Regions from separate parts of the Homo sapiens genome. Here all the other regions are linked to region 4. Evidence: promoter capture Hi-C in 16 types of primary human blood cells and fetal thymus (Javierre and others, 2016). All regions are on one chromosome and are shown on one strand. Each heading gives the region's core, a stretch centred on a gene start or on the middle of the fragment in contact. The rest is flanking DNA. Distances are from core to core; before and after follow the strand shown. Region 1 has its middle 100 kb from the start of DDIT4L-AS1. Region 2 holds the start of SLC9B2 (solute carrier family 9 member B2). Region 3 overlaps LOC107986232 (a long non-coding RNA gene). Region 4 holds the start of PPP3CA (protein phosphatase 3 catalytic subunit alpha). Region 5 holds the start of CISD2 (CDGSH iron sulfur domain 2). Region 6 overlaps CENPE (centromere protein E). Region 7 overlaps UBE2D3-AS1 (UBE2D3 antisense RNA 1).

What was found. Contacts are between HindIII fragments. The CHiCAGO score rates a contact against its expected background, and 5 or more counts as called.
Region 1: a fragment that was not itself captured here is called in contact with the fragment with the promoter of PPP3CA in region 4 in 1 of 17 cell types (naive CD8 T cells); the score reaches 6.7 in naive CD8 T cells.
Region 2: a contact is called between a fragment that was not itself captured here and the fragment with the promoter of PPP3CA in region 4, in 4 of 17 cell types (fetal thymus, naive CD4 T cells, activated CD4 T cells and 1 more). The highest score is 11.8, in fetal thymus.
Region 3: a fragment that was not itself captured here is called in contact with the fragment with the promoter of PPP3CA in region 4 in 1 of 17 cell types (naive CD8 T cells); the score reaches 5.6 in naive CD8 T cells.
Region 5: a contact is called between the fragment with the promoter of CISD2 here and the fragment with the promoter of PPP3CA in region 4, in 1 of 17 cell types (fetal thymus). The highest score is 6.6, in fetal thymus.
Region 6: a fragment that was not itself captured here is called in contact with the fragment with the promoter of PPP3CA in region 4 in 1 of 17 cell types (fetal thymus); the score reaches 6.1 in fetal thymus.
Region 7: a contact is called between a fragment that was not itself captured here and the fragment with the promoter of PPP3CA in region 4, in 1 of 17 cell types (fetal thymus). The highest score is 6.2, in fetal thymus.

The regions. Positions count from the first base shown.
Region 1 is chr4:100,086,593-100,090,193 of GRCh38, reverse strand. No RefSeq gene overlaps it. Among named protein-coding and RNA genes, the nearest start is that of DDIT4L-AS1, 100 kb to the left of the region's middle. The HindIII fragment of the contact is 714 bases long and covers 1,756-2,469 here.
Region 2 is chr4:103,075,536-103,078,727 of GRCh38, reverse strand. It overlaps SLC9B2 (solute carrier family 9 member B2), which reads left to right and starts at 1,967. Exons shown (of 12, transcript NM_178833.7): 1 at 1,967-2,544. It overlaps BDH2 (3-hydroxybutyrate dehydrogenase 2), which reads left to right. Exons shown (of 10, transcript NM_020139.4): 10 at 1-1,136. RefSeq lists an enhancer at 1,968-2,087 and a silencer at 2,198-2,307. The HindIII fragment of the contact is 645 bases long and covers 1,369-2,013 here.
Region 3 is chr4:100,102,901-100,106,352 of GRCh38, reverse strand. It overlaps LOC107986232 (a long non-coding RNA gene), which reads right to left. Exons shown (of 3, transcript XR_001741515.2): 3 at 1,891-2,541. Among named protein-coding and RNA genes, the nearest start is that of DDIT4L-AS1, 85 kb to the left of the region's middle. The HindIII fragment of the contact is 1,712 bases long and covers 460-2,171 here.
Region 4 is chr4:101,345,711-101,348,956 of GRCh38, reverse strand. It overlaps PPP3CA (protein phosphatase 3 catalytic subunit alpha), which reads left to right and starts at 1,431. Exons shown (of 14, transcript NM_000944.5): 1 at 1,431-2,218. The coding sequence starts at 2,161. PPP3CA-DT (PPP3CA divergent transcript) reads right to left here and starts at 1,180. Exons shown (of 2, transcript NR_033874.1): 1 at 948-1,180; 2 at 74-633. RefSeq lists silencers at 1,196-1,805, 2,276-2,635, 2,656-3,045. The HindIII fragment of the contact is 5,765 bases long and covers 1-3,246 here.
Region 5 is chr4:102,867,412-102,871,102 of GRCh38, reverse strand. It overlaps CISD2 (CDGSH iron sulfur domain 2), which reads right to left and starts at 2,111. Exons shown (of 3, transcript NM_001008388.5): 1 at 1,916-2,111. The coding sequence starts at 2,018. It also overlaps a transcript of UBE2D3 not described here. RefSeq lists silencers at 1,851-1,970, 2,001-2,290 and an enhancer at 2,521-2,660. The HindIII fragment of the contact is 11,662 bases long and covers 1-3,269 here.
Region 6 is chr4:103,102,975-103,106,483 of GRCh38, reverse strand. It overlaps CENPE (centromere protein E), which reads left to right. Exons shown (of 49, transcript NM_001813.3): 49 at 168-673. The coding sequence ends at 262. Among named protein-coding and RNA genes, the nearest start is that of BDH2, 4.9 kb to the right of the region's middle. The HindIII fragment of the contact is 4,331 bases long and covers 1-3,509 here.
Region 7 is chr4:102,828,759-102,832,293 of GRCh38, reverse strand. All of the region lies in intron 1 of UBE2D3-AS1 (UBE2D3 antisense RNA 1), which reads right to left. It also overlaps a transcript of UBE2D3 not described here. Among named protein-coding and RNA genes, the nearest start is that of UBE2D3-AS1, 2.5 kb to the right of the region's middle. RefSeq lists enhancers at 2,843-2,922, 2,963-3,022. The HindIII fragment of the contact is 4,037 bases long and covers 1-3,535 here.

The DNA of each region.
Region 1 (3,601 bases), core at 863-3,362, 1.3 Mb after region 4:
AAGGGACCTAATTAAACTAAAAATCTTCTGCACAGCAAAACACATAATCATCAGAATAAACAGACAGCTCACAGAATGGGAGAAAATATTTGCAAACTTTGCATCAGACAAAGGATTAATATCCAGAATCTACAAGAAACTCAAACAAATCAGCAACAGTAAAACTAATAATCCCATCAAAAAGTAGGCAAATGACATGAATAGATATTTCTTAAAAGAAGACATATAGATGGCCAACAAACATGAAAAACTGTCCAATATCACGAATCATCAGGGAAACACAAATTAAAACCACAATGAAATACCACCTTACCCCTGCCAGAATGGCCACTATTAAAAAGTCAAAAAACAATAGATGCTGGTGTGAATGTGGTGATGTGGTGAAAAGGGAGCACGTTTACACTGCTGGTAGGAATGTAAATTAGTACAACCTCTATAGAAAACAGAATGGAGATTTCTTAAAGAACTAAAAGTAGATCTACCATTTAATCAAGAAATCCCACTACTGGGTATCTACTCAAAAGAAAAGAAATCATTATATCAAAAAAACCCTTTGCCAGGTGCAGTGGCTCACGCCTGTAATCCCAGCACTTTGGGAAGCCAAGATGGGCGGATCACGAGGTCAGGAGATCGAGACCATTCTGGCTAACACGGTGAAACCCCATCTCTACTAAAAATACAAAAATAAATTAGCCGGGCTTAGTGGCGGGCGCCTGTAGTCCCAGCTACTCGGGAGGCTGAGGCAGGAGAATGGCGTGAACCTGGGAGGCGGAGCTTGCAGTGAGCCGAGATCAGGTCACTGCACTCCAGCCTGGGCGACAGAGCGAGACTCTGTATCAAAAACAAAACAAAACAAAACAAACAAACAAACAAAAAACACTTGCAGGCATGTTTATTGCAGCACAATTCATGATTGCAAAGGTACAAAACCAACCTAAGTGCCCATCAACTTATGAGAGGATAAAGAATATGTGGTATAAATACACCATGGAATACTATTCAGCCATTAAAAAAGAACAAAACAATGTCTTTTGCAGCAACTTGGATGGAACTGGAAGCCACTATTCTAAGTGAAGTAACTCAGGAATAGAAAACCAAAAACTGTATGTTCTCACTTATAAGTGAGAGCTAAACTATGGGCACACGAAGGTATACAGAGTGGAATAAGGAACTCTGGAGACTCAGAACGGGAAGGGTGGGAGGAGGGTGAGGAATAAAAAAACTACATATTGGGTACAATATACATTACTCAGGTGACAGGTGCACTAAAATCTCAGACTTCAGCACTACACAATTCATCCACATAACCAAAAACCACCTATACCCCAAAGGCTATTGAAATTTAAAAATTTTAAATAGAAACACTTACCAATATTTAAAACATAATTGAGGGATGCAACTCCAGACAGGATGATTAGGCAAGAGTAGGTGACATTTTAGCTGACTCCATCCAGAAATATCCAGAAAATTTTGAGAAGAATCTTAGGGGCATTGGACTTTTTCAAGAGGTCAGGGTAAAGCCAGAAAAAAAAGTGCCATTTTGCAACCATTACTTTGTGCCTTTAAAATCCCCAAAATTGTTTTTCAAACTATACTCCTTGGAACCCTAAGGAGTGCCACTAAAACCTGTGCGGGAGCCACACACAGCTGGAGCGGGGCTGGAGACTCAGGCAGGGTTCTTTGTCCCTGACATCTCTGTTAATCAGAGCAGCTATATGCCCTCCAACTTTCTATATTATAGCTTCCATGTAAGCTTTTGCCTAAGAAACTGTTTTGCAACTGAGAAAATTTGAAAACCACTGCCCTAAGCTGATGTAGCCTAGGAAATGTGAAATTACATTAACGTAGAGAATGTTTTATCCAGGGCCTTCTACGTTTCAAAGTACAGCCATTAGTTCATCAGGATGTACATAAACTAAACAAGGACATAGAATGTTTTCTCCTTCCTCCTGGATTCCTGTCTCCCTTTAATTGAGAGCCATTCCTCAAGGAAAGAGGATTTACTTAACTGAACGATATATATTGATTATCTGAATTATTTTTTAACTCATTATACAATAGTTTATGTTTTCACACTTTGCCTAAATATTTTTTAAGAATCCCTACCCTGTGTAACATGCTACAGTTGCTTCACAGCTGTGCTAAAATAAAGTCAAGGAGGCAGCCAAATAGAACTTCCTGTTAGCTGGTGATATGGCTTGGATGTTTGTCCCCTTCCAATCTCATGTTGAAATAATGCCCAGTGTTGGAGGTGGGGCCTGGTAGGAGGAGATTGGATCACGGGAGCAGATCCTTCATGAACGGTTTAGTACCATCCCCTTGGTGATGAGTGAGTTCTTGCTCAGTTGGTTCATGTGAGATGTGATTGTTTAAAAGACTCTGGGACCTCCCCCTTCTCTCTCTCTTGCTCCCACTCGCACCATGTGACATCATCTGCTCTCCCTTTGCCTTCTGCCGTGATTATAAGCTTCCTAAGACCCTCACTAGAAGCAGATTCTGGAGCCATGCTTGTACAGTCTGCAAAACTGTGAGCCAATTAAACCTCTTTTCTTTACAAGTTACCTAGTTTCAGATATTCCTTTATAGCAATGCAGAAACTGACTAACACAGAAAATTAGTACTGAGCAGAGGGATGTTGCTATAAAGATACCTGAAAATGTGAAAGTGGCTTTTAGTAATGGGCAGAGGTTGGAAGAGTTTGAAGGACTCAGAAGACAGGAAGATGAAGGAAAGTTTGGAACGACTTAGAAAGCTGTTAAGTGGTTGTGACCAAAGTGCTGATCGAAATATGGAGTGAAAATGAGCCTGATGAAGTAAGGAAGACGGGAGTGAGGAACTTATTGGGAACTGGAGTTAAGGTCACCCATGTTACACCCTAGCAAAGAATGTGGTTGGGTTGGATTCATGACCTAGAGATCTGTGGAAGTTCGAATTTAAGAGTGATGACCTAAGATATTTGGCAGAAGAAATTTATAAGCAGCAAAGTGGTCCAAGATGTGAACTGGATGCTTCCAACAACCTATGATTAGATACAGGAGTGAAGAAATGACTTAAAGTTGGAATTTATAATGAAAAGGGAAGCAGAGCAAAAAAATGGAAAAATTTGCCTCCTGGCCATGTGGTAAAGAAAGCAAAAGCATTTTCAGGAAAGGAATCCAGGCAGGCTATGTTGTAGAGATTCGCATGACTAAAAGGGAGGCCAAGTGCTAGTAATATCCAAGACAATGGATGAAGGGCTTTGAAGGCATTTCAGAAGTTTTCAGGGCAGCCTCCCCACACAGGCCCAGAGGCCTAGGAGGAAAGCATGATGTTGGTGGCCAGGCCCAGGGCCCCCTCCCCTGAGCAGCCTTGGGGCACTGCACCCCACATTCCAACTAGTCTAGTTTCAGCTTCAGCTCAAAGAAGCCGGGTTCAGCTTGGACCGCCATTCTGGAGGGTGCAAGCCATAAGCCTTGGTGGCTGCCATATGATGTTAAGCCTGCAGATGCTCAGAATGCAAGCATGAGGGAGGCTTTGTGGCTTCCACCTAGATTTCAGAAGATGTATGGAAATGCCTGGGTGCCCAGCAGAAGCCTGCCATAGGAGCGGAGCCCTCATAGAG
Region 2 (3,192 bases), core at 442-2,941, 1.7 Mb before region 4:
ATATAATTCTGCATTGTTCTGTATGTAGATCCTAATTTTAAAATTTTACACCATCATAAATGAACAAAGGTAGGAAGGAGTTTGGCTTCAATAGCTTACAGTAAAAGGAGTAAAGGAGTTCAGCCTCAAAACGATATTGTTGACCTGTTATGTTATGAAAAATAATCCAGTGTTTATACTTAACGGATGCCATCCCTTATTATTTACTATTTTCTTAGTCTAACTAAACAATCTTTATTAAAATAAGCAATGATATTTGACATGGGCCTAAGAAATATATAGTTAGCTAACAATATTGTCAGTTAGAGGGATTTCTTTTCTAAATTAAGTACAGATTTCTTCACCAAACTCCAGGATAACAGAAAAGAGGACATAAAATTTGGACATAGTTTCTGGATAAATAAATGTAAATTTAAATATAAATTATGTAACAGGAAACAAACGAAATTAAAGAAAATAAATTTTTCAAGAAAAGTAAATTTATGGATGTTAATTCTGTAACATTGTCAGGGCAAAGTTTTTTGTTTTTATTTTAATTTAAGGGTTTTATGTTTGTTTTTTACTTGTTGCAACCTCAAATGACCAAATGGTATGATGCACACTGAGATACTCAATAAATGTGCAGTGATTCTTAGCCTTTTTTCCTAGAACTTTAATATTAACATGGAAAATTCTGAAATGGACAACAAAAAGATAACACTTTGTGTATGGGGAAGAATATCATGCAGTTGATGACGGTACATTAAAATTCACACAAAAGGACATTTTGACTAGCATTCAGAAAGAGTCCATTGATTATAAGATTATCTATGAGGTTTTGGACCGGGCACTACACTACCGAATTATGGCTAACTTTGGTTTGTGATCTAGACCAAGTCACCCAATCTATCTTGGATTTTAGTTTTCTGGTTTATGAAATTAAGGAGTTAAGCTAAATGACTTGGGTTTCTTTTCGTGTATCATAATCAAAATGCTGTAACTTCTCTAGTGAATTCATAGAACACTGACTCTTACAAGTATGTCATGAAATACTTTATGCTGTGAGCAGGTATACATGTATAATATATGTATAGCTATGAACAAATAAATTTTAAATAAATGCACAACGAATTCTACAAAATGGGCTCCAACATTAACAAATGATCTGAGTTAGTCTTTCTCACAGCCGACCATAAACTATAAAACATTTTTATAAACACTATCAGCAATAAAAACGAAGTAAAATCTAGCCAAAAAATTCAATGTTCTCCAAAGTCATGTTAATCAAATCAGGTGATATATTAATGAAGTACATATGACTAAAAGGAAAAATATATGTCATTCCTGTGGTAAGAGGAAGCTGAATGTCACTAGAAATTTTTACAAGCTTTAGGAGAGGAAGAGTTCCGTTTAGGAAAATAATCATTTCAGATGATCTGAAGAAGGGTATTGGATGGAACCTATCCAATAGGTTCATCACAAAAGAGGACCTGAGAGACAAGAATGAATGGTTTCTGACTGGTGGAGAAATTTGAGGATAATCTCCCTTGCTTGAAAAGCGGTGATTAAGATTGGCACTTGCTTACAGGAGTGAAAAACAGGTAAGGGGTGCGCGCGTCTTAACACACACAAGAGGAAATACAGAGAAAAGGAAGACACAAACATGAAATGAGAATTAAATGAAATAGAATCACACTGCTGATAGAAGGGTTAAAAATCTAAAATACAACAAGAAGGGCAGGTGTTAAGCGATAAAGGGGGGCAGAACAAGTCTTTTATCCGGCCATTTAATTGGTCACCTTAAGAAAGAATCCTATCTTCCCACCGCAGCTGAGAAGACACTTCTAAGAGGTACAGCTAAAAGGTGGAGGACTGATAGACAACTTAGAGGTTGGTTTCGGGAACGATAAAACAAGTAACGGGCTGCCCGGCCTGCGCCGCGGAGTCCCGAGGAGCCTGCGCTGTGCTCCTCTCGCGGTGTCTCGTCATCTCCGGGAAGACTCGGCGCCTGGGTCCGCGCTCTCTGGGTAAGCTTTCCGGGAAGCTTTCCCGGGAGCTCGCTGGTCCTGGCCCCAGAAGCCTGCGGACCCGCCCAGGGAGGATAAGCAGCTGAAAGACCGCGCGGTGCCGCTCCGAGGCCCCGGGACGTGGGCCCATGGTCGGCCTGGCGCCACCTTTCCGGGGGAAGCCACGCGCACCAGGCATCGCACGCGGCTCTGCACCCGCGCCGCCGGACCTGAAACCCGGCGGAGGGCACACGGGGCTGCCGCTGCGGGCCCCGGACCAACCCATGCTTACTCCGGAGCCTGTACCGGCGCCGACGGGTCGGACCTCCCTGCGCGGTGTCGCCCAGCGGGTTCGTGCGAAAGGCGGGGCCGACTACACGCGGTGCCGCGCCCTGAGACCGTTTATCTGCAGTCAACGCAGCCTCCCGGCTCAGCCTGGGAAGATGCGCGAATCGGGAACCCCAGAGCGCGGTGGCTAGACCGGGCTCCGCCGCCTCCCCCACAGCCCCTTTCCTAATCGTTCAGACGGAGCCTGGTCGACTTCGCCGGAGACTGCCAGGTGAGAGGCCCCAGAGACACTAAGGGTAAAAATAAACCCAGCGCCAGCGGCGGGTACCCTGTAGGCCTGCTGGACCGGAGACGCGAGCGAGGGGCCCAGCCTTTTCTGTTTGTACACCCGGTGACGGGCGCGTGTCTGTTTACTGTTGTAAGGTGTTGGCGTGGGTTTTCTTGCTTGCTTTTATTTTAGTTCTCAGATTAACCAGAGGGGGTGTTGCCTTTGTGGACTGGGTTAGCATCCTCGAGGTGCTAAGAATCATCGTATGCTATTGACTGAAGAATATAACCTTAAGACAGCAGTAGCTGCTGTAAGAGATAAAGTAAAACATCTCAGTAACTAAACATAGTTCAGGCTTATTTCTCGTTCATGTCAAGTCCATTCACGTGTTCAGCTGTTGGCCTTCTACTCAATTATTCAGGAACCCAAACTCCTTTTATATTATGGCTTTGCTATCCCCTAAGACCTTGGAGTCCTTAGTTTCCAGGCAACGGACAGAAAAAGAAAAGCTACTAGAGGATTGCATGAGGATTGTTTCTTATGGGTGAGGACTGGAAATCACATACTATTTATGTCCACATGCCATTGACCAGACTTCAGTCACATGCCACACTGACCTGCAAGGGAGACTGGAAATGTACTATGGACCCA
Region 3 (3,452 bases), core at 66-2,565, 1.2 Mb after region 4:
AAAGAGATTGTTAAAACGTGAAGTGCAAAATTATATCATTTGCCTTATATATAAAATAAGGTGAATTCATAAGCAAAAAAAAAAATTGTCCAGGCATGGTGGCTCATGCATGTAATCTCAGCACTTTGGGAGGCCGAGGTAGGAGGATCACTTGAGCCCAGGAGTTCAAGACCATAATAATGCATCAACAATAAATCTAGACATCTCAGTGAGCACAGCTTTTCTGCATACATACAGATAGGAGATGTTTTTTAGACAAATCACTGCTGTTTAGAGGAAATTCATAAAGTTGGCACAAACAGAATAGCTCTCTGTCAGGTTAACTTGACATACACAGCCTTGGGGGTATATGACTTTGTGCATTGAACTTTCAAACAAACTGAACGTTGAAACAACAGCACCATTTTTTATATGCCTAATTAGGAATTTTGTATATCATCCAACGAGCAACTGTAAGCTTCCACTTGGGAAAGCTGCCTGCCTTCAATGGTTGTATTTGATAGTGCCATATCTTTGTATGTGCAACAGTGTTCCTTTGGGCAAATATTTATATATTTATTAAATGTTTCTCTCATAGTTATATATAAATTAGTGGGAAAAATTATCAAAACATGTTTGATTTTATAGAACTCCCATTCAAACTTGCTCAGAAGGAGGGGTTCAATACAAGGGCACAGAATTATCCTACAGTACACAAGTACCGAGGCCTATCCTCAGCAGCATCTGGAACTAAGAAATTTATCAGGATCCCATTCATTCAACAATTTATTCAGCAAATATTTATTGAATGCTTCTGACAAGCACTAAGAAATTGCAGTGAATGGGCCAGGCATGGTGGCTCTCATCTGTAATCCCAGCACTCTGGAAGCCCGAGCCGGTTGGGTCACTTGAGGTCAGGAGTTCAAGACCAGTCTGGTCAACATGGTGAAACCCCATCTCTATTAAAAATACAAAAATTAGCCTGTTGTGGTGGTGGGTGCCTGTAATCCCAGCTACTAAGGAGGCTGAGGCAGGAGATCACTTGAACCCAGGAGGCGGAGGTTGCAGTAAGCCAAGATCGCACCATTGCACTCCAGCCTGGGTGACAAGAGCGAAACTCCATCAAAAAAAAAAAAAAATCCAGAAAGAAATAAAGAAGACTTTGCATAATGCAATGAATGACACCCTTAACAACATCTTGATTAGAGAAGAAATTGCAGTAAGCAAGCCAGACAAGCACCCTTTCTTTGTAGAGCTTACATTCTAGTGAGAAAGACCATGGGAAAGAACAAATTAGAGCCATTGTGATTCAGGCTATGAGGGAAATAAACAGCATGAGGAGACTGAATATAACTGGGGAATTACCTTGTACAGTGAGTGGTCAGGCAAGGCCTCTCTGAGGAGAGGAGGTTAGAGCTGAGATGCAGGGAGAAGAATGAATCCCACATACAAAGAGCATATATACATATACACATATATACATATATACATATACACATATATACATATATACATATACACATATATACATATATACATATACACATATATACATATATACATATATACACATATATACATATATATACATATATACATATATATATTCCCCACCCCTATTTCTACTTCCCAGAGTTAGTCATTCTCAAAAATGTATATATATACACATACATATACATGTGTATATATATACATTTTTGAGAATGACTAACTCTGGGAAGTAGAAATAGGGGTGGGGAAATAGGAGATATTTTTTTCTCCACAACCTTCTACAGAGTTTAATTTTACAAACCAGTATATATTAACTTTATAATAAAATGTCTTTAAAACCACATTAAGGATGATAGACACATACTCTGACTCTCAGGGAATGACATCACAGAGGGGAACAACCCTGCTTTTGGTTGCTTAGAAGGAGACAGAATCTACAGCCTACTGGATAACTCTTCTGACCTACTCACAGTTTTTAGGCTCTGGAGGAAATGCTGTCATGACTGTCATTTTTCTGTCAAAATCCATCTAGGTGTCATAATTGGCAGAAGTGTCTGTCACTCCAGCTGTGTCCCTATGTACATAGATTGAAAATGATCACCTCCAGTGAAATATTGGCACAAATTTCAGCATCTCTCCTGCCACTCTGTAGAAGAACACAGTCTAAAAGTGAAACCTGTAGATGCCTATTATATGAAGCTTAGCATCAAAAGAAAGGTCACCAAGACAACTGACATTTTATTTTTTTCATATTTCTGGGGTCACATCTTCTTGACATCAGGATAATTGTTTGAAAACTGAGAAATCCAATGTGGTTTCCTACGTGGTGCCAAGTATCTCATATTGGCTTATTTTTTTTTCTGGATTGGTAAATATTTTGGTGAAATGTAGACACAACTGATCTGATAGTAACATTTGCTCCATGAAAGTACAAAATTTGATTTATTTTCATAACTTTCACATTAAGACAAGCACTGGAATATGAATCAGAAGACTACATTCCTGCCACTTACAAATTGTGCAACCTTGGGATAGGAGTATTCTTAAATCTCTGCTTAGTCTTCTCCACAGCTGCAAAGATGTGACAGTGAGCAAATAACAAGAAAGCTCTTTGAAAAGTAAAAAAGGGTTATAAAAATGAAAGCATTATTAAATAACCTCAGCTTGATTGAAAATTAAAAATAACATGTTATTTCTTTTGTATTATAATAATAATATCCTAAGTTAGACTTTAAGCTCTATAAAAAAGGTCAATACTGAACTGGCTCACCATTGCTATCTCCAAACCCAGCACAGTGTCTGACATATATAGGCTATATCAGTCAGGGATCAACCAGAAAAGCAGTACTACTATGACTAATGTAAAATAAAGTAGCTAGATCTTTCCTCTGCATCTGATGTGGGGCCTGAGATTGCAATATGCAAGCTGGAACACTAGTTGGGAAGAACAGCTGGATGCAAAGTGGGAGAGAGCAAGGATAGACTGGAACCAGTATCTGTCTCTCACTACCTCCAACCTCGACAACACAGGTAACCTGCAAGAGAAGCTAATCCCCATTGACATAGAGCTAGGAAACAGAATGTCCAGAGCAGACAATCCAGCAAGAACTGGAGAAGCTGCAGACCCAGGTGCTATCCACCTGGCCACCCAGGTAGGCCAAGCAGATCAGTGACAGCATGCACAGGTTGCCGTCATGACTGGCACCATGCACCAAATTTCAGAGCATGCAAAAATGGCTGTGCTTCTTTTCTGTTTCCCAAATCTTATGAAAATTTCTCTTGTGGACAACCCTTACCCTGAAACATACAGGAAAGTGAAGTCTGGAAAACATACTTCCAGTTTAGTGAAGCTGACATAATACAAAGCCACACATAGGCACTTAGTATGTTCTTCTTAAGTAAATATATTTCAATATACAAATATAAAATTTTAAAGTAAAAATGAATATGTATGAGATTTATATGGATATGTGGAAGAAGAC
Region 4 (3,246 bases), core at 182-2,681:
TTGGACCCGTGGTCCAATTGAGGAAATAGGAAAAACCTGATACTGAAGGACTTTGGAAATAAAACAGGAAACATGAAGGGTGAGAAATTTATTCAGATTTCTTCATAATTCCCCCCAAAAGCTCCAACCACGTTGCCAGTCCTTGGGTGCTGCAGTTGGTCGGGGAGAGGGGCTGTGTGGAGGTCACCTTCTGGTAGACGGAGACCCGCTTTTCAGACTCTGTGGCGCAGCAGGCGGGCCAGGAACATTTGGGCCACTATTGCTCTTAGCCCTGCCGCGCCTGACTTTCTCTCCTCTACTTTCCTTCCGACCGTAGGGACAAGTGTGGGGATCCGCTTTGGGCTCCAAGGCCCTGCCCGCACTGGCAGCACCAAGCGGGTGTAGAATGACTGGAAGGAGCAGGGAAGGAAGATGGGTGTCAACTGTCCCGGCCAGTGGCTGCGTGCATGTGTGTGTGAACAGGGAAAAGGCCACCCTCTCCCATGTTTCTCCCGTCTCCTCGGTTCTCCTCGGAGACCCGCAGGGCTGCCCGAGGTAGCTCCGAGTTGCCCTGGGTCGCTGGGGCTTGGTCCGCATCCTCCTCCGCTAGTCCGCTCCCGCGTTCCACAGCGCCCCGCCGCTCGGTGTGCACGCCTGGGTGGGACACAGTAACAGCCCCTAAGCCGCCAACGCAAAAGCAAAAACAACCGTACACCGCATCGCAGTCGTAGCTCTTCTCCGCAAGGTAAGTTGTTTATTCGTCGCCGTTTTGGCGATCCTCCCTGGACAGCTGCGGCAGCGACGGCAGCTGCGCCGCGGGCGCCGAGCTCCCAGCCTCTTCCTTCCTCCGCCCTCTCAGGGCTGCCTCTCACCCCCACCCTCTTCCCTCCTATCCCCGCCTTCTCTCTTCTTGCCCTCTTGTGGGCCACGCACACACCCGGAGACACCCTCTGCACTTGGCTACTCACACTGCGGCTTAACCCAGCCGACAAGGCACGCTTGCCAAAGAGGCGCGGGTGTGTGTGTGCGGGGTCCGCGTTCGGAGGCCAAAGGAGGGTGGCGTGGTAGAGCCCTTCTCCTCCTGGCCGCGACGCCTTGCCCACTCTCCTGCCCTAATCTCGGCCTGCCAGCAAAAGTGACACCTGAGCAGGGACTGGTCCGTAGAGGCGGCAGGCCCGCTGGTCCGGCAGCTGGAAGAAAACAGAGCAAGGGGCGGGGACAATGAGGAGGAGCGGGAGGCGGGACAAGCGGGGAGGCCGCCACCTGGCACTGAGTGATGCGCCCTCTAGCCAATGAACGCGAGGAACTCCGGCGTCGGGGCGGGAGGTCGGGGGCGGGCTCAGTGGGGAGGAGGAGGCTGCAGGCGCGCAAGAGGCGGGGGCCGGGAGGAGGAAGGGGAGGAGGCGGAGGCGGGCGCGGTGTTGGCGGCGGCGGCGGCGGCGGAGGGGGGTAGGTTGTGCCCGGGACTGTGTCTGCCGAGCTCGGCGGCTGTGCCTTGGTGAGTGGAGGAGCGGCGCGGGGAGGCAGAGGCGAGCGCGGGCGATCGCGGCGGCGGGACGTCTCCGGCGGCCGCGGCACCAGCGGCGGCGCTCTGTGTGGAGAAGCAGGGGCAGCGGCAGCAGCAACAGCGGCAGCGGCAGCAGCAGCGGCAGCAGCGGCGGCCGCCTCTCCGCCGCCGGGGACGCCAAGGTGCGGCTGGTGGCACTGACATCGGCGGCCCTGCCTCTCCTCCCTCGCCCCCGGCCTTCCCCATGTGATCGGTCTTAATCCTGGCCGTGTGTGCGCGCGTGGGGCTCCATTCCGCGGTGCTGGGTCTCCGTGCCGGGGTGGGTGCTCGTGTGTGCGCTTCTCCTCCCCATCCCCCTTCCCCCAAGAATAAAAGAAGAACCGGGAGGCGTGCTCAGAAAATAAATAAATAACCACCACACACGCGCAGCCCGGAGCGAGTCGGCGGGGCTGGCGGCAGCGGCGGAGGAGGAGTGAAGGCGGCGGCGGCGGAGGAGGGACGCGCGGAAAAGGCAGCAACTTTAAAGCCAGCTCAGAGCCTAGACCTCCAGCCGAGCGGTTTGCAGCGCGGCGGCGGCGGCGGCGGCGGCGGCGTTGAGTGTCTGGCCCGCCGGTCCGGTCGGGGTGTGCAGTCGGACGGACGAGCAGCGCGTCGCTGTCCTCCGGCAGCTGGAGATGTCCGAGCCCAAGGCAATTGATCCCAAGTTGTCGACGACCGACAGGGTGGTGAAAGGTAAGCGGAGCGCCGCGGTGGCCTGGGTGCACCGTGTGCCGCAGGCGCCAGGGCAGCTTGCCTCGCCTCGCCTTTCCTCCCCTCCCCCGCCCCAGGTTCTCCTCTGTCCGCTCCAGCCGCGGACCTTCTAGGATATTGTGCAACCCGCGAACCCCGCGAACCCCCCGCCCCCGCGGCGCCCTTCCCCCACGCGTCCCACCCAGCCTCACTTGGGGCATTTTTATTGACGGGGGCGTCAGTTGGCAAATGGCTGAGCCGCGGGGAGGTGGCGGCGGGGGTGGCGGTGGTGGGAGGGGGCGCCCGGGGGGTGGTTGCTGGTAGGGTGTAGCTGCTGTGACAGAAATAGGAAGTGGGTGGCTCTGCTCACAGGCTTGCATGGGATCGGGTTTATGGTTTTCTTCTGCAGAGGGAGGGGTGATTGATGGCTTTTTAAAAATTAATACGGCATTTTTATGTGGCCGTGGCTTTCCACCGACTGCCTCACTTGGGCAGGGTTGTCTTGGAGCTCCATTGCAGCAATTCCCTCCGCGCCCCCCTCCCCCTCCCCCTCCCCCTGGAAGGGCCTGCACAGGACTCGCGAGAGAGCGGGAGAGCGTGGGGGGAGCCCGGCGCTTCCTTCCGCGCGGGGCGGGGGCGGGGGCGGTCGCTGGCTGGAGGGTGGCCGCGGGGGGCGCGGGAGGCGGGGAACGACCTGAGAGCACCAGCCGTTGCCGCCCCGGGATTTCCCCCGCACGCCCCGGGGAGAGACACGAAAACCACTTCTCCAGCCTCTCTTGCCATCCCCGGCTGTCCCCCGCCGACCTGTCATTGCTCTTAAAGGGTTCTCCACTCGTGCACACCTCCCAAGTGATAACCTCATTCCGCCTGCTTCCTCCGTGCCCTGGCATCCTTTTTGTAACGGGCTGTTGGATTCCTATTATTGCCTCCTCTTCGCCGCCTACGGGATGATAAACTCCTGGCAAGGATGCACTGAGGTTGCTGGCAAAGAGAAACTGGGATGTGCGGAGTGAGGAAGGGGACAGGCTGTG
Region 5 (3,691 bases), core at 862-3,361, 1.5 Mb before region 4:
TCCTTTCTTGACTGTTAAAAATTCCTCAACAGTTAACTTATGCAAATTAGTAAGAAGGTACAAATGTCAAAATGACAAAAGGGTACAAAAGTCACAATATGATCATACCGTTTTGGCCTGGTATTGCTATTTAAGTGAAGACATCCAAAAGGGAGAAATATGACAACTGGTATTTGCTTACTTGCCAATGAACTATTACATAATGAATTTTAAAAAATAGAAACATTTCTAATTTCCAGTTGTAAGGGAATGAATGGTTAGGCCCATTGTGATGTTAAAACTAAAATAAGTATTTAGTTGTTAGGGAAAAAATGAGGATTATATTAAAATATGTAAAGTACTTAAGTAAAAGAAGTGGGGAAAGCCAAAATTTTATGGAATTGCTGCAATTCTGTCAGAGTAAACTGGTAGGATCAAAAGATCTGATGTTTATAAACACTTGATGTGAAACGTTTTTCATTTTATTTTACTTTTGCATTGCTTCTGATGTTTAATGTTCCTTTTTAATGTTTATTATTGTTACCATGCTTTCTATTCAATTGCATGTTTTCTACTAAAACTCTTAATATTTAAAAAATATTAAAATCTCACAATCCACTCAACAGAGCGTCTGTCTGACCATAATTCAATGAATCTCTAGATTTGGAAGAGAATTTGTCATCTAGTTTATCCCTTCTAAATCTATCGACCACCCACCACCAGAGTCTTTTTGTTTGTTTTTTTCATCTTTGAGAGGGGCTATCACTGAAGCACCACATTTGTTTGGGGAAAGCATTCTTTAATTTAAAAAAAAATCTTCCTTAGACTGAAATTCACCTCCCAATAACCTTCACTAATTTGGTTAATTTGTTATCAGTTCTATATTTTAGTCTACACAAATCTTATTTTTCTTCTACCAGACAGCTGTGCGATTGCTGTATTTTAGGTCAGGTACTACAGATCTTTAGAACGTTCCCGGCGAAGCAACCCTATTTACCTCAGAATTATCTTAATTCATGTTTGCACTCCCTGATAACCTAGGACATAGGAGTTCAATACTTGCTGATTCCTTCACCATCCTACTCGGTCTGAGTTCCGTTTAGAAATATCCCCCTTACAATGAAATGCTCATAACTCAACACAATCTCCCAAGTGTTGACTGCATTCTGGAGATTTTCATCCTTTAGATGTGAAATCCTCATGAGTTGTGTGGGTTAAGTGAGGGTCCTTAAGTATAGAACGTTACATATATTCACTAAATTTCATTTTCTAAGATTTCACTCCTCATACCGGCCTTCGAATACTTTCTTGGGTAAGGTATCTTTCTTCCAACTTAAGTTACCGCAGCGGGCCCCGGGACCGTAGAAACGGAGATGACCTCAAATGCCACCTATGATAGGTCAATTCTAACCTGAGGGAATGGAGGTTATCTCCTAATTTCGTTACTAAATAAAACGGTCATATACGTGTTACGTGTAAGTCTATATTTCTCTCCCACACACTCCCACCCACATGCTGAGGGTACAACCCAGCCGGTAGCTGGGGCTGCCTGTTACATGAGGCCTTAGATAACGACGACTTAGCCCGCTTTAAAATAAACAAGTACGCTACAGAGAGCGATGAGCAGGACAGGAGATGAAAGAGACTGGCCTGTTCCCAACTCAGCACCTTCTCTGCAAAAACCTGGTATCTTGCCACGGAATGACACCGGAGACAACTCCGAGGACAAAAGACCCTGGGGCATCAAGCACCCGGAGACTGCCTCACAGGCGTTCCCCAGGCAGCTGCGTCGGCGCGCGCCCACCTTCCTCTGCGCGCGGGGATCACGTGCCAGGCGCCGAGCTCCGTCCCGCCCCTTGGCCCTAGGATTTTTACGCCTCCTTCCCCCGCTTGGCGAACGTGCAAGGATGGGGACTGGCTGATGGGGGAGGATTACCTGTGAGCCTAGCGAACCCGGTAATGCTTTCAGGGACTGGGAGCCGCTTCAGATATGCAGGGAGCTGCACCTTCACGATACGGGCCACGCTCTCCAGCACCATCCTGGCCAGCGGCGTCCACTCCTCTCCCGAGCCCCCTCCGCTCTGGCCAAGCTGCCGCGCCTGCGCCGGGAGCGGAAGCGGCCGGCGGGCACTGGCGGCCTCGGCCTGGGCGGCGGGCGGGGCGGCGGGCCCTGGGAGGAGAGGTGACCTGCCGGGCGCCGATTGGCGGCGGGCGAGTGACGTACGCTCGCGGCGGACTGCCGAGGCGCGGGAACTGGCGGGTAGCGAGGCCCTCCTCGGAATCTCGTGTGAAGGTGGCCCTCCTCTTGGGCCTTTAACGTCTGTAGATGCTGGAGACCAGCAGAAAGGATACTGTGTGCGATGAGATAAGCATGTGAGAATGCTTTCTAACCGAAAGTGCCTTTCAAAAGTGAGTCTCTTGCTGTCTCTACTTCGTCCCCTCTCGCCCCGCCTCTTCCCCTACAGTTTGGGTGCTGTGGCCCTAGGGTTGCATACTCGCCCATGAGTATCCTCCCCCTACCCAGACCCCAGTGCCTAATTTTACTCCTTCACCCAAAGGCCAGGCTTAAAAAAATAAAAATTAAAATATTTTAACTAAACCAGGAACTGTTTACATCTCTGCCCCTTGGCAACTTAACTGCAGCCCTAGCTCCAAAAACCTCTGGTTTTTGCCACTCAGAGAAGATTCGTAGTAGTCCTTCCTTAGATATTTTCAGTTCCTTTTCCTTCGGGAAAGTGGTAAAAGAATCCAAAGCTGGCCGGGCGCGGTGGCTCACGTCTGTAATCCCAGCACTTAGGGAGGCCGAGGCGGGTGGATCACGAGGTCAGGAGTTCGAGGCCAGCCAGGTCAAGATGGTGAAACCCCGTCTCTACTAAAAATAGAAAAATTAGCCGGGCGCGGTGGCAGGTGCCTGTCCCAGCTACTCGGGAGACTGAGGCAGGAGAATCGCTTGAACCAGGGAGGCGGAGGTTGCAGTGAGCCGAGAATGTGCCACTGCACTCTAGCCTGGGAGACAGAGCAAGACTCCGTCACAAAAAAAAAAAAAAAAAAGAATCTAAAGCCTTATGTATGGTTTTCTTTATGTTACAAGGCTTCTGCTGAAGTCTAGCGCAGGGGGTCCTTATGGCTTCCCTAGGCCACACTGGAAGAAGAATTGTCTTGGGCCACACATAAATACACTAACACTAATGGTAGCTAATGAGCTAAAAAAAAATTTTTTTTCATAAAGTTTTAAGAAAGTTTACAGATTTGCATTGAGTGGCATTCAAAGCCATCCTGTTGGGCAAGCTTGATCTTGAAGGTTTTAATTTTGTTGTTGTTGTTGTTGTTACAAGGTTTCGCTCTATCGCCCAGGCTGTAGTGCAGTGGTCAGATCATAGCTCACCGCAGACTCTAACTCCGGCTTAAGGGATCCTTCTGCCTCAGCCTTCCAAGTAGCTGGGTTTACAGGCGTGTGCTGCCACACCCAACGAATTTTAAAAATTTTTGTGTGTATGTAGATGGAGTCCCATTATATCGCCCAGGCTGGATAGTTGTTTTTATTAATATCTCTAAAAGATTTGAAGGGTAAGAGGAGAAAATTTCACTCCCTTGAAATAACTTTCTTGCTATGACTTTGTTTCATATTTTGGCTGAAGTCAAAATGTCCGAAGTTGTGCACTTGCTGATTGGATAATGTGTGTGATATCTTAATAATATGCCTCATTATTTA
Region 6 (3,509 bases), core at 706-3,205, 1.8 Mb before region 4:
AACTCTGAGGTGAAATACACCATCTTCATGACCAAACACGGTGAATCACGTTGCCATTTTTCATTCTTCACATCTCTCCTGTCTTAACCTCCTTTCCACTTCCAGCTGTGCTTGGTTTTTGTGTATTTTTGTAATAGGATGAATGTTGTTTTCATTTTCTTTCTCAGAGGTGCAAAATGCAGGAGCAGAGAGTGTGGATTCTCAGCCAGGTCCTTGGCACGCCTCCTCAGGCAAGGATGTGCCTGAGTGCAAAACTCAGTAGACTCCTCTTTGTCACTTCTCTGGAGATCCAGCATTCCTTATTTGGAAATGACTTTGTTTATGTGTCTATCCCTGGTAATGATGTTGTAGTGCAGCTTAATTTCAATTCAGTCTTTACTTTGCCACTAGAGTTGAAAGATAAGGGAACAGGAAATGAATGCATTGTGGTAATTTAGAATGGTGATAGCAATACCTTCTTCTTGCATATGGTAATACTTTTAAAAGTTGAATTGTTTTATTTATTTGTATATTTTGTAAAGAATAAAGTTATTGAAAGAAATGTAAAGTTATCTACATGACTTAGCATATTCCAAAGCATAATACATACATTAATATAAAACATCATTTTATTAACAAAATTGTAAATGTTTTTAATACCTTACACATTCAATAAATGTTTAGTAGTTCTGAATCACCGCTCTTCTATATAATGTTAATGGTTTCTTGGTGAGGTAGTCTCTCTTGTTGACTCAGTATTTTGCTATGAAAATATACACAAGTTTTCTGGATCTGGATTTAAATTCTTAAAGGATAGCAGAGGCTATGTCCTCTTAACTTTCCAGTTCTAATATTCCTTTTACTGTAATAACCACAGAAGTTCTTTCTCACATTTCTGGTAACCTACCTATCCCAATCCCTATACAAACTCTCTAAATTGGTTGGTTTATTATAGACTTTGTTTTTCATTGCCCCTCACTCCCAGCCTGGAGGAACCTATAGATCATTTATTCTACCTCTTCATTGTAGACATAAGGAAACAGTACCAGAGTTTTTATCAAAGTAAAGTTTTCTAAACCTGGAGTCCCCACAGATAGATAAAGCATATATGGATGGACTTCTTGTAATCTGTAAAATTTTTGAAATTTTTTATGAACTTTTTTGTGTGGATTTATTTGGGGGGAGGGGATACTGGGGTTTATACTTTGTTTTATCATATTCTTAGAGGGGCCCGTGATCCTGTAAAAATCTAAGAACTATGGTTTTAGAGGATATTTGATATTACTTTTATACCATATGACTTTGAAAAACCACTTAAAACAAGTTGCATTAGGTTATAGAACAGAGGTAAAGTGATTTCAAGTCATTCTCGGCTCTTTGGTAAGATTCATTCAAAGGGAGAGATTATTGATTGCATCATATCTAGTATTTCAAAGTCTGTGGATTGGATATTTCTCCGTATCTTAACATACCACCAAAGGAATTAACAAAGACTAAGGGGAAACTATCCCTTCCTAAAATCTTTTCCCCCAGACCTGTACCTTGAGAGTCTGTCTTCTGCTTTCCACCCTTATCCAAACAAAACACTAACATGCCTGCAGGTTTGATTCTTTATGTCTGCTTCTCCACTGAACAAAAGTAACCCAAAGTAGTGGTTGTTTACCTGATTGATAAAACTACATTAAAGCCATTAAAAATCTAGTTGTCAGGTAGCCAGCCTAGTAGAATATTGCTTAACTTTTGAATTTGGGTGTCCATTTTATTCCTCAAATTTGGGAAGTTTGTGGCCATTATTTCTTCAAATAAGCTCTGTCCCTTTTGCTGCCACCATTATCCCACACCCTTAATATCCCCACACATTTTTCTCAGATTTCTGCTTATATAAGTTAGAAAACTCAAGTGGTTCTTTTGATTGTGATGCAGCTCCTCATGGGCCACACTTTGTACCTCACATTAGGGATCTGCTGGGACTTGAGTCTAGTTATAGGTCTAGGAGCATAGAGGGGTGGTGGGGGTAGGTCCTGAGGAGAATCAGCATTGTCTTGCTTGGCAGCTGCCTCAGGGGAGGCCATTATTATTTCCTCAGGCAATGCAGGGTTAACCCTTCAGACAAAGGTGGAAAGGCCATTACCAACCCCAATGAGGTTGGAGAGGCCACTACAGCTGGTAAAAAAAAAAACTCATCAGAATGTAGGAACTGGCCAGGCATGGTGGCTCACACCTGTAATCCCAGCACTTTGGGAGGCTGAGGTGTGGGACTCTTGAGCCTAGCAGTTCGTGACCAGCCTGGGCAACATAGTGAAACCCCGTCTCTACAAAAAATACAAAAATTAGCCTGGCATGGTGGCTTATGGCCATAGTCTCAGCTACTCGGGGGTGCTGAGGTGGGAGGATCACTTGAGCCCTGGAAGTCAACGTTGTAGTGAGCCGAGATCATGCCATTGCACTCCAACCTGGCCAACAGGGTGAAACTGAAAAAAAAAAAAAAAAAAAAAAACTCAATGTTCCTGGCTTCAGGGTCTTCCCACACGTCCCCATCCCAACTTATAGAATCTCACTCTCCCAGTCACTGTGGCTTATTTTACCAGTAGACACACTGAGGCCTTTTGTAATTGCACCAATCAAATGATGAAGACTGGTGTTTGATTTTCAGCAATTTTAGCCTCATGTCTACAGGAGAGAAGATCCTCTTTCAGGGCACGCCTATAAGCTCTTAGGTTACTTATGTGGAGCTTGAGCCATGAATTTGAATCCCTGAAGTCATCCTTTTTTTTTTTAAATAATTTTGCCCAACAATATTAGAAGCAACCAACCAACATTGGTATATTTCTTAGTTTTCCATAAATATTTGAAAGTATTATAGGGCCGGGCACAGTGGCTCACACCTGTAATCCCAGCACTTAGGGAGGCTGAGGCAGGCGGATCACAAGGTCAAGAGTTTGAGACCAGCGTGGCCAACATGGTGAAACCCCGTCTCTACTAGAATACAAAAATTAGCCAGGCATGGTGGTGTGTGCCTGTAATCCCAGCTATTCGAGAGGCTGAGGCAGAAGAATCGCTTGAACCCAGGAGGCAGAGGTTGCAGTGAGCCGAGATCATGCCACTGCACTCCAGCCTGGGCGACAGAGCAAGACTCTGTCTCGGAAAAAAAAAAAAAAGTATTATATATAGAGTCACTTAAGTTCCTCACCTCTAAGAAGTGGTTGATTAGGAGTATCCAATGCAGACATTTTGCATACCTCTATGAACAGTTCATTTCTTGGACAATCAGTGCTCTCTGTACTATTAAAAGGAGAGCCAGGCTGGGCGCAGTGACTCATCCCTGTAATCTCAACACTTTGGGAAACTGAGGCAGGAGGAGCACTTGAGACCAGGAGTTTGAGACCAGCCTAGGCTACATACTGAGACCTCATCTCTACCAAAAAAAAACAATTTGGAGGGCTGAGGCAGGAGGATGGCCTGAGCCCAGGTATTCAAGGCTACAGTCAGCTATGATGGTGCCACTGCACTCCAACCTGTTCAAGAGTGTG
Region 7 (3,535 bases), core at 414-2,913, 1.5 Mb before region 4:
TCGCAATACTGCAGCCAAAGTTTTTCTAGTTTTAAAAACTTATCAAGTCATCTCTGAGACTTTGCATGCTGTTTCCTCTTCCTAGGAGCCTCCCTCACAATTTTTTTCCAACTTTGCCTTGCTCCCTTTTTTTCATTTGTTTTAATACAACTCTCTTCCTCAGAGAAACTTTCCCTGACCACCGCCAGCTGAGTTCAGTACATTAATAGTGCTCTGTGCACACATTTATGTCACTGAACCCACTCTATGATGTTGTCTGATGCTTACTGGTCTCCTCAAGAGACTTTCTTATAGATGACATCTGTGTCTTTTATGTATCTTCAGTGTCTAGCACCTAATAGTAATTCGATGTTTTTTAAATAAATAGAAAACTAGGAGTGACTCTATCAACAGATCTCTACTACATTAACATTCTTTGTCCTAAACCTGAAAGACTCCCACTTGCCTATTCAGACCTAAGTATCACTGATTGACAAACCGAATGAAAGTCTCTTTATCGTGCCTCACCCTACACCAAAAGCAGTATTACAAATATATATTTTTTTAACCTGTGTTTGTAAGTAAACCAGCTTTTTGGAAGACAGAATGCACTATTGTGGTCATTTCACATAAACAGAATCAAACAGTATGTGGCCTTTTGTGTCTGGCTCTTTCACTTGACAGAATGTTTTAAGGCTTCAAGATACATTTTGTAACATGTATTAGTACTTTGTTCCTTATAATAATAATAATATTCCATTATACACATATATCACATCTTCTTTATCCATTCATCAGCTGATGGACATTTGAGTTGTTTCTACTAAAAAGTAGAATAGCCCTACTCTGAACATTTGTGTATATATATGTTTTTGTGTGGAAAAATGCTCTATTTTTATCTCAAAGATTTGTGCATGCTTCATTACATGCCAAAAGCCTTATTAAGGCCAAAATGACATCTTAGCATGAAATAAAGTACACTTTCTTAAACCATATTAATTTGACTTAATGAGATTCTGAATTGTTAAGTATAGAAATCAATTTGATTTTTGTGCAAACAATGTAAAATAACATTTGGTTGACCTGGGCTCCAAATTACTTGGTCCAGGCAGAATATGTAAATGAGCATTCTGAATATAAAATCTGGACCGTAGCATTTACAATTTAATTAAACTAATAAAATGGTATACACTGTACTAGAGCCAGTGTCTTTGGCAAGTTATAATATTCTGTAACAAAATTAAAGATACATGAAAACATAGATACAATATTAAGTACATATATATAAAATCTGTTAATTATGTTTATTCATCAATACATTCTAATTAACCCCTTACTCTCAAGTTATTATAATAACGTGGCCTCACTGAAAAATTCATGTAATAAGACCCTGGCACACCACCATTATTCAGATTGGTAGATTAATTGCCCATTTACTAGTAATTTTCTCTGAGACAGGGTCTTGCTCCATCACAGGCTTGAGTATAGTGGCACAATCACAGCTCACTGCAGCCTCAACCTCCCAGGCTGAGGCAATCCTCCCACCTCAGCCTCCCAAGTAGCTGGGACCATAGGCGTGTACCACCATGCTCAGCTAATTGTTTTATTATTTTTGTAGAGACTGGGTCACCCTATGTTATCCAGGCTGGTCTCAAACTCCTGGGCTCAAGTGATCGTTCCACCTTGGCCTCACAAAGTGCTGGGATTACAGGCGTAAGCCACCAGCCCAGCTTTAATTTTCTTGATCCTTTCTATTTTCTCATGTTTTATGTCAATTCATGCAAGATAATCTGATCTACTATATTTACAAAGTTTTTAGGACTTCAAAATAGTATTTATTAAGGAAGGGATTATTTTTAGTTAATTAAATTTTCAACATTTTTGTACCTTTATTAATTTCTAAATGTAAATTTTTCTTTCAGTATTTACAGCCATAATTTTTTTCTTGTTAGCATTATTTCCGACTGCAATATAAAAAACATGATTATTTTCCTTTCTTGTTTCAAATGAGGACATCTCTACCATTGTAATTCAAGTAAGTTAAATGAATGAAAATGTTTTAACTTTATTTGCAACTGTAAAGTGGGCTCTCTGTAACAACAGGTACATGAATAATGTTTTAAAATTTAACTTAATCTTAGCCTGCTTTATCCTAAGGCATCAAAATGCTTCTAGGCTATGTTTCTTTTGATTTTAACCATGGCAAAATATAAGCAGAAATGTAAGTCCACTTATGCAAATACAAACTTGTAAACAGAAAGCCCAATCAACCAATGAATTTACTTCACTGCCTAACAATAATGAGTTTGTGATTACACAATCACTTGCCTTTATAAGCATGGATAATCTAGAACTCCATATATATTAGTTTTGTTTTTTGTTCTTGTTTTTTTTTGAGACAGGGTCTCACTCTGTCGCAGTGATCTTGGCCCACCGCAACCTCCGCCTTCCAGGCTCAAGCGATTCTCCGGCCTCAGCCTCCCAAGCAGCTGGGATTACAGGCGCCCGCCACTACGCCCAGCTAATTTTTTGTATTTTTAGTAGAGATGGGGTTTCACTGTTTTGGCCAGGCTGGTCTCGAACTCCTGATCTCATATGATCCACCCGTCTCAGCCTCCCAAAGTGCTGGGATTACAGGCGTGGCCACTATTACTACTATACATTTGTTTCACACTATGGCCAGTTAATGTCTGACTGGTTACTTTAATAACTGACATTTATACAGCACTGTAGAGTCTCCAGTGTCCTTTCACATATATTATGACACTTTAACCACACAATCACCCTGTGAGAAAGGACAGTCATTATTACTTACTTTAGCGGTGAAGAAACGGGGTTAGAAGATAACTAACCAGGCCAATATCAAGCAAATGGGAAGCAATAACTAATCTGGGTTCCTCCCTCCATCTTCATGCCTAGTCCTGTGCTTTTAGTATATCTGGCTAGCTATGAGAGAGAACACAGATTATTCAGGGAGGAGGGAGGGGCCAGAGGTGTTACTGAGGTGAGCCTCATGAGCAGTTAGGCCATGAGGTAAGCACTTCAGTGCTTTGCTACTCACGGGGTGGTTCAGACGAGAAAAATCTGTATCACCTGGGAGCTAGTTAGAAATGTAGGCTCTCAGGCTCCACCACTGCCCTACCAAATCAAAGTCGCATTTTCAACAAAACCCCAGGTGGTTCCTATGGACACTAGTTTGAGAAGCACTGCTTCACTAGTGACACTACATGGTCACTTGAACAGTATACATTAGACTACTTATATTCATCATTGTTGACGTGTTAAGTTTTTATTAGGTAAAACTTTCTGCAACAGTTTTCAAATTAAGTGTATTTTTAAAACAAGTTTATTTTTCCAAGTAATTGAAGATCTCCACTTCGGTAACTGGGGTCATTAAGGAATGTTAAAAAACCTTAAGCTGGTCAGTGCTTACCCACTTTTAAATTCCTCATAAAAATTAAGGTCTTTCTTTTGCCTGAAGGATACACTAGAGAGCATAACTGCCGTCTCCATACTTTAAACCCTTGACTAAAACAGGCCAATCCTACTGAGGTAA